Linked DNA regions of Homo sapiens: region 2 is linked to region 1. Evidence: promoter capture Hi-C in 16 types of primary human blood cells and fetal thymus (Javierre and others, 2016). All regions are on one chromosome and are shown on one strand. Each heading gives the region's core, a stretch centred on a gene start or on the middle of the fragment in contact. The rest is flanking DNA. Distances are from core to core; before and after follow the strand shown.

Region 1 (4,325 bases), core at 518-3,017:
TGAGTGGGAACCACAAGGAGGAAAAGCCAAGTCCCTGCCTTCTAAGAGCTGACAGTCTGGAGTTACCCAGAGTGATCTTCTATTTCACTAACTGTTAAAATAGTCTGATTAGAACAACTATTGTAGAATTGAGTGACCCTTTGCTTTGCAAAGGTCATATAGAAATATTCTGCCACTGAGGATCTCATGTCGCCCAGTGGTTCTGAAAATAAATAGAAGTTGCGTACCTTCATGGACACCCATGAATGAAAGTAAATATACCCTAATCATCACAGGAAGCATGTGCGGTCTGCACGTGAAAGATGCATCTCCCATCAGCTAACAGAACCAGGTGGAGTCTATGTTTTAATAAGGACGTGTTATTGATCAGGAAGTATTAGGTTATTATGCCTAGGTAGTTGCTTCTGGGATTCCAGTCCAAAAGGATCACCAAAGCATCATGGGATTTTCAATGGCTTCCTGTGGCTTGGCAAATGCTCACTGCTAACTGTGATTTCCCAGTTATCCAGAGTAGCAGTCAAATCAAAGGGGAAAGCCTCATGTTTCAATAACTTAAAACAAAACAAAAAAAAAAACGGCCAGGCGCAGTGGCTCACGCCTGTAATCCCAGCACTTCAGGAGGCCAAGGTGGGTGGATCATGAGGTCAGGAAATCAAGACCATCCTGGCTAACAGGGTGAAACCTCATCTCTACTAAAAATACAAAAAACTAGCCGGACATGGTGGCACGCGCCTGTAGTCCCACCTACTCGGGAGGCTGAAGCAGGACAATTGCTTGAATCCAGGAGGCAGAGGTTCCAGTGAGCCGAGATGGGGTCACTGCAATCCAGCCTGAGCGACAGAGCGAGACTCTGTCTCAAAAAAACAAACAAAAACAAACAAAAAAAAAAACTCAGTAACCTTGGTTTAAAGTATTTCCTTGGTGGCCCTCTGGGTTGTGTAACAATCGGATGCATTAATTATTATGGCATCAAATGACACCAGCAACATACATAGTCAGAAATAACTATTTGATTCAGGCAGGTGCTATTATTTGTTTCAGCACTGTTAAATGTGGGGTTTTTGTTTTTGCAAGAGAAAAGGCGGTTGTGTGTGGTTTCAAGAAGAAGAAAAGTCAGAACAACATGCAGCCCATTAGAAAAGATAAATTCTTTATTTGTGGAAAACAACAGAAGTGGGGCTATTTAGGCACCGCCAATGTTTATTATATTCATATGGCAGAGAATAAACACAGCACACTAGAAGTTTGCGCTTTGGGTATTAAAAAAAAAAAAAAGCAAAACCTTCTTAGGTCACTGACTATCTTCTTTTGCTCCTTTCTATCTGACTCCTCAGGCAAGGTGCAATTCAAATCCCTGGAGAACCTCTCAAATATAGCTGCTGTTCAATGTTACTCAGAAATAAGGAAAGAAATTTGACACGGAGACACTCCACATCTTGGCTGCCTGGAAAAATATCATCTTTGAGGTCATTCAACTCACTAAGTCATTTTTATTATTGTTTTGTCTGTCTATTTTCTGGTACAGTCTCAATGAAAGATATGTGGCCCTAATCATGCAAAACCGATCTGGGGGGAATCAGTTGTTTCTTCAGGTCTTCGCAGGATTCCAGCTCCCCCAACTACCTCCGTCGCCTTCTAAAACTGGCAGGCTCTGGACGTTTTGCATGCTGAAGAAAATCACTGTTTTGCCTCCAGCAAGGAACATAAATGTTGCAACACTGACTCCTCCTCTCATGAAGAAAGAGTGAACAAGTGCACCGAGTTGAGCTTCTTCTCACAGAGCCACCGGGCTGGGGACCGGGGAGCGGAGGCTGAAATCCCCAGACGCCGGTTTTCTGGGCTGGGCTTTCTGCCTTACTCACTCCTTCTCCCTCTTTCTGGATTTTACCGACCGTTCGCGAAACAGCTTTCCACACAATGGAGCTTCATGTCCTCGTGCAGGAAGTACTCATCGACTGATGTGGCAGACTTTGCTCCCTGGCAAAAGTGAGTACCCATGGCGAGCTGAGGCCGCCTCCGACGGCGCGCGGCAGGGGCTGCGCGGGCGGCCGCTCTCCGGGATGCGGGTTCGAGGCCCGCGTGCTGAAGGGGAGAGCGGGGCCACCGGCGCGGGCTCCTGGAGAGAACGCCAGCCAGGAGCCAGAGTCGGCAGCCGGCGGGGAAGCCCGGGATCCGCCCGCCTCCCGCCCGGATGTCCCTTCTCAGAGGGGCTAAAAAATACTCTTAAGGTGCTTTGCCTCCACCACTGCCCCCAACCCCAGCTTTTACAAACTGCACTCGGCTCGCATTCGCCTTTGTCAAAGGCATCTTCACCTGTATCCTTGAGCATGAGTTTCGGCGTTGATTGTGGGATTCTCAGAATGCAAATTATTTGCGTCAAAATAAAAAGAAAAGAAAAAAAGAGCGGGGAGGGGGAAGGGGCGCAGACAGGTGATGTGATGAAAGCCGGACTCGAGACTCTCCCATCAGCAGCAGCCGCCGCCGCAGCAGCCTCGCGGGCATCCGGCGGGGAAAGTTTAGGGTTAGCAATGCTGACCTGAAAGGTGTTGCTCCTCCCAAAAGTCAGCGGGGGTAGGGGCAGATGAGCAGCCTCCGGGCCAGAAGCCGGAGCTGGACGGAGGCACCTAGGCAGAGGAATTGCAGCCCGGGAGGAAGCTGGAAGGAGAGCCCGCTGGAGAAGGGAGGAGGGAAGGGAAGAGGAGTTGGTTAAAGTCAGGCAAACTCAGGTAACTGGAGGGCCGGCCCGAGTGCTACGGCAGGGGAAGGCAAGGGCTGGAGTTCTGGCTCTTTGAGTAGAAAACTATCCTTTTAGTGACCTCTACCTGTATCCTGGGGAAGCAACCCACACTGCCCTGAAAACAAGCAACGTAGGGGATTCTATGACTGGACTTGAAAATGGTTGCAAAACATTATTATTAGTCTGGAGGGATCACTTTGTCTTCATTTGTCAAGTTGACCGGGCAAGATTTCCCACCTGAAATCGTGCTTCACTTGACCAGGGAAGTGCTGCTAATCCCAATCCTGACCATCAGCTGTGCAAACTTGGGCAAGATACTTACCCTCTCTGGGCTTCGATTTTTTTTCTGCAAAGTTTAGGGAATTAATTAATTATATATATATATTATAGAAATATATATAATATATATATAAATGTTTAATGAGGTGGAAGTGCTGAATAGTGCAAGAGAGGAGCAGATGAAAATATTAATTTCAGTGGTTCTTAAAAATTAGGGGTGATAGGTCCTTTTGAGAATTAGCTGTGAGTCCTCTTCCTGGGGCAAAATGCATATGGCATGTACATAAAATTTTACATGCAATCCCTGAGGGTTTGTGGATACTCCCTGAAAGCCATGCCTGAATCCCAGGTGACAATCCCTTATTCCTCCTCCTGTATCAAGACCACCCAGCCAACTCCTTGCTGCTGGTTGGGCTGACTGTGGGAGTAATCCACAGCCTTCTTGGGGGTCTGGAGTCAGCCACGCTGCTGAAGGAGACAGCTCCCCTGTCATGGGTGAGCTCCCCACATGCTCTCTCCAGAGCTCTACCAGCCTCTGACTCCAGGGGACCCCTCCTCACAACCCTTTTTAATGACTCTCCTAAGGCGACAGTCCTTACCCCTAGAATTTTCAGTCCCACCAACCCTGGAGAGCCATCTAAAGAGGATCGCTGTCTGAATCAGAGTGCTCTTCAGGTCACCTAGCTGGATGGCAGGGAGGCCAAGGCTTTGTTTGGAAATGAAGCAGTCTTTGCTCCCTGAGGCATAGTATGAGTAGGCAGCCATATTCTTTTGAACCTCTGTACTTTGCCTTTAGAGGACTAAGGACTCACATCTCTGGGGACCCTGGGTGTTCCACTAGCAGTGCCAGCAAGGCACATCAGAAAACACACAGGGCTTTGGAGCTCAACAGACTGGGCTTCAGATCTTGACTCCCACACTGAGCAAGCCTCTGAGTTTTCCTGAGCTTCACTTTTCCTGTCAGCACAATGAAAATAATGCTGCTTTTTTTTTTTTTTTTTTTTTGCATGGTTGTTGGGAGAATGGAAATACTATGAATCATGCCTAGCCCATAGTCAATGATAAACTTTTTCTTAATATTAATGTGGCACCATAAATAAGTGTTCAATAGTCTCATGCTTTTAAGAACAGCTTACTCTCTCTCTCCTATGGGGCTTACATTAGTAGAAGAATGAGTAAAATTAGTTCTGGTCTAGTTATGCACAAAAAGGAGTGGTGGCCTCAGAATACAGAGTCAGACTGGCTGTTCGAATTGTGCAGTGTCAAGGAGAGCACTATGTATTGCCGGCAAGTAAAGTATGTCCAGACC
Region 2 (4,325 bases), core at 1,228-3,727, 320 kb before region 1:
AAATAAAACCTGACAGTTTTTTTCATTTTTGCATAATTTTATATATTTTACCACTGGTAAACATTAATGACATTTAAAAAAAAGTTTAAGAGAGTTTTAAATACATTAAATTTGTTGCTCTTGGAAGTCCATTTAAACATATAGCAACTCTTTGCTGGTTCTCTTTGCCAGTGTGCCCCTCAGAGTCAAATTCAATTATTTCTAAGTTAATGGACCCCTTCACTACACCAAATGTAGTCTTTTAACCAGCAGCATCATTTCCTGGGAACTTTTGAAAATGTAAATATTCAACCCTACCCAAGACCTGCTGAATAGGAATCAACAGTTTACATTTTCCATAGGATTCCACATGTACATTAAGGCTTGAGAAGCACTGAGCCAGGAGTGATGACAATAGGCACTTTCAATTTTCTTTTACTTTGTTGTTTTTGATTTGATGAACCCTATTTAAATCTGTCCTTGGGGGTCAAAACAACTGGTATAATGCTTTTCTGCCCAACCTGAAAGAAATTTTGTTTTCTTTGACAAGGAGGCAAATGCAGCTGCATGATTTCAAACTAAACAAATTAAGACAAAGTTGAAGTTTTCCTGAAAAATTCAAAGGTGGGAAAAAAAGTCACAAACAGGTAATTGCTCACATATTACCTGTCAGAAGTAGATGCTGTTCAAGTAATAAGATTTCTTCTTTTTATCTACCAGATCATATTAAACAAAAACACAGATTCCTTTATATAAGCACTGACTACATCATAGTATATGGATGACATTTTATACTACCAGAACTTCTTTTGGATAAAAATGGGTTCTTTCAAAACCATACTTTAAAAAATATGAATATATGAACTAGAACAATTCAGAAAAATAACATGATACCTCCTGACTACTTATACTAAACACATCCGGTGGAAAATAACCCTAGTTTAAAAAAGCAGATGGAAAATTTTCTTCTGGAAATTAATGTTAATAAAGAAATCTTTCTGATACTTGCAAGAATTTCACTATGTGCACAGCTGTAAACAGAATAATGTGGAAAAAAAGATACTATTTTCTTTTCCTATGAGCCCAGCAGAAAGAATCACTTCACTAATTTTTTTAATCTATGAGTAGATAAGTAGAAGTCTTTAAAATAAAATCTTCCACTGATTTTTATATTTTTTTCTGAGAGAAATTCTTGTTGGCACTCTAAAAAGCTGGATTTTCTGTAGTTTTGGCAGAATAAGACAGCCACAAATCATTTGACATTCGTCTTTTTATTTCTTTAACATTAGAGAGCCAAATGCCCCTCTTTTTTTGCAACTGGAGTGGCCTTTCAGGTGATAGAACGCAGGGAAAATGAGATTGTGTAACTCCTAGGGCTAGGTCTGAAGAAACTGTGTAGTTCCTGCCTTGCCCACTAAAATCCATGATGTCTAAATGCTTCCCGTTGGGATACTGCTCTCAGGACCAAGCAGCCATGCTGTGAGAAACCCAGGTCATATGGAAGACATTATGTTCAATTACTCTAGTTGACAGCCTCAGCTGAGCGAGCCATTTTGGAAGTTGAGCAGATAACTGGGGTCCCAGCCAATATCCAACTGCAACTTTTTGAGAGACAACAAGTGAGAATCCCTAGCTGAGCTTTTTTAAAATTCCTGACCACAAAATTATAAGCAAAATAAGATGGTTGTTTTAAAATGCTAAATTTTGAGGTAATTTCTTTTTTAGCAATAGATAAAACACCAACGAATGCCACAATCTCTGTATGCAGAGACCATTGTTTCCTTCCTGTTGCACTGTATGTTTCATAGTATTGACTATTCAGCAAAAATATTAGCAATAACTTTGTGTGATCATAAATATATTAATAATCTCTGATTGCTAAAATGTCATTTACCTAATTTCATTTTGTTTTTCAAATCTTACTAACCATATTGAGTTGAAAGACAGCAAAAATGATTTGAGAGAGCATTGTTGGTACTGGCAGGATAGGATTTGTAGAGTGAAGGCAACAGCTTTGGGTACCTGAACCCATGAAAAGGCCAGGTACAACTGACTAAAGAGGGTTATCTAAGAAGCAAGCAATAACTGATGAATGGGAGAACAAAATCATTGTTGGCTACTTTTATAGAAGTCCCTTCTGAAAATGACATCATGCCACAGCTTCCTTCAAAGCAAAATGTTTTCCCAAAAATTATAACAAAAACTTATTTTTCGTGAAAGCAGGCCAACTGTTTTCAACTATTAACTTGTGCTGATCTCTAACACATGGATAAAGGGATTTCTAATTTGAAATTAAAGTTTGTTGCTAAAGTGGCAGGCTAGTTTCAGGTTACAGCTGGGAATTCTTGACTTATATCATGACTGAATCAAGAATCAGTAGTAAACACTTCAAACATTTTGTGCCATTTTTTGCTGGAGTCCAAATCTATCCTTCCTACCCTGGCAAGTTGGCTTCATCTATCTACTGCACTATCTAACTATAGGACATACTAGAGGCTTATAATCTAAAATTATTTTTCCTTTTGGTCCTCACCTAAACCATGTTTAGGCACATTTTAATTTTATTTTTTTAACCTTAATCTATTGGTTTCATTTTATTCTAACATAAGTCTCTATTTATGGGAGGTAACCAATTAAAACTACCAAAAGGTGTTCATATATGAATTGATGGCAGAAGAATAGGTGTATGTAATCATAGATATAATGGGAAAAAAACAAAAATGAAAGAACAGTGCAGTCTTTTTAATGAATGTAATCTATGATTGTTTGTTTTTTTAGGGAAACAGGATTTTTAAAAAATTTTTTATTCCCACAGGTTTTTTGTGAACAGGTGGTAGTTACATGAGTAAGTTCTTTAGTGGTGATTTGTGAGACTTTGTTGTACCCATCACCTAAGCAGTATATACTGAACCCAATTTGCAATCTTTTATCCCTCACTTGACACCCACCTTTTCTCCTGGGCCCTCAAAGTCCATTGTATCATTCCTATGTTTAGGCACATTCTTAAGTAGGGCTTAGGAATTCTGGGTTTATACTGCATGGGGGCAACTAATGAGTGCTCATATGATTTCTGCTGGCTTGTAAAGTGGTGATTTTCTCATGAGAGATGTCCCTATTTCCCATGAAATTTTTGCTTCTGCTTTCCCCAGGAGTGGCTCTGAGAATAATTGGACTGTATCCTGCAGGAGGGGGGTTAAAGGCAGAGGTATTGCCCTGTTGAGAACTGAGCTTGGTAGAAGGCAAATAGACTCCCAGAAGCATAACTCATAGTGGTGTGCCATAGTTACTACTGAGAAATTGTAGCACTTTCGAAGAAAAGAGAAGAAGGATTAGCTCGATTAAGACACCATCTTCATATCTATGAGACAGAACTAGAGAGGCAAAGAGTGAACCTAAAATATAGGTGACAGGTATATTCAACATGTAAAAACACTTTTCATTTAAACTTACCTTAGTCAGGTTCAGATGCTAACTCATTAAATATGACTACCACTAAAACAACAATGAAAAGAAATGTAAGAAGTAACATAATAGAATGATAAAACAGTCCAATTATCTAAATATGTTTTGATCCCCTGATATTTATAATATAAATAATAATCATTAAACCTTGAATTTTATGGTGTCTCCGTGTCTCCAACTGAGGCTTCTTTGAAGTAGTGATGTCATATTAAATGCTATAAATGGGCAAAGTAATTGATAACTTACATTCTTCAGAATGAGAATATTTGCCCCATCTTAGATTATTCACAGGCCCACTTGTGCTTTTAGAATTCAATTATATTTTATCTTATCAACTTTTCTAACTATTCCTTGTAAATACTCTCTTTTTTAACCTTAAGAGTAATGATTGTAATTTATTCAGTGTGTACCTGGCTACAAATTATACTACAAGACTACAGTAATCAAAATAATATGATACTGGTATAAAAGTAAATGCATAAACCAGTGAAACAGAATAGAGAACCCAGGAATAAAGCCAAATACCTACAACAAACAGATCTTTGAGAAAGAAGACAAAGATGTGCACTGAGGAAAGGATACCCTATTCAATAAATGGTGCTTGGAAAATTGGATAGCCACATGCAGAAGAGTGAAACTGGATCCCTATCTCTCAACATATCCCAAAAAAAAATAACACAAGATGGAAGGAAGACTTAAATGTAAGACCTGAAACCATGAAAATTCTAGAAGAAAACCTAGGAGAAACTTTTCTGGACAGTGGCCTAGGCAAATAATTTATGGCTAAGCAAATACAACAAAAACAAATACAACAAAATAAGAATAAATATATGGTACTTAATTAATACTTAATTACTCTTATTAATAGTACTTAATTAAATACT

Evidence for each region. Contacts are between HindIII fragments. The CHiCAGO score rates a contact against its expected background, and 5 or more counts as called.
Region 2: a fragment that was not itself captured here is called in contact with the fragment with the promoter of PRLR in region 1 in 1 of 17 cell types (monocytes); the score reaches 5.1 in monocytes.

What each region holds. Positions count from the first base shown.
Region 1 is chr5:35,227,929-35,232,253 of GRCh38, reverse strand. PRLR (prolactin receptor) reads left to right here and starts at 1,767. Exons shown (of 10, transcript NM_000949.7): 1 at 1,767-1,986. The HindIII fragment of the contact is 6,146 bases long and covers 1-4,325 here.
Region 2 is chr5:35,551,388-35,555,712 of GRCh38, reverse strand. No RefSeq gene overlaps it. Among named protein-coding and RNA genes, the nearest start is that of SPEF2, 64 kb to the left of the region's middle. The HindIII fragment of the contact is 8,248 bases long and covers 1-4,325 here.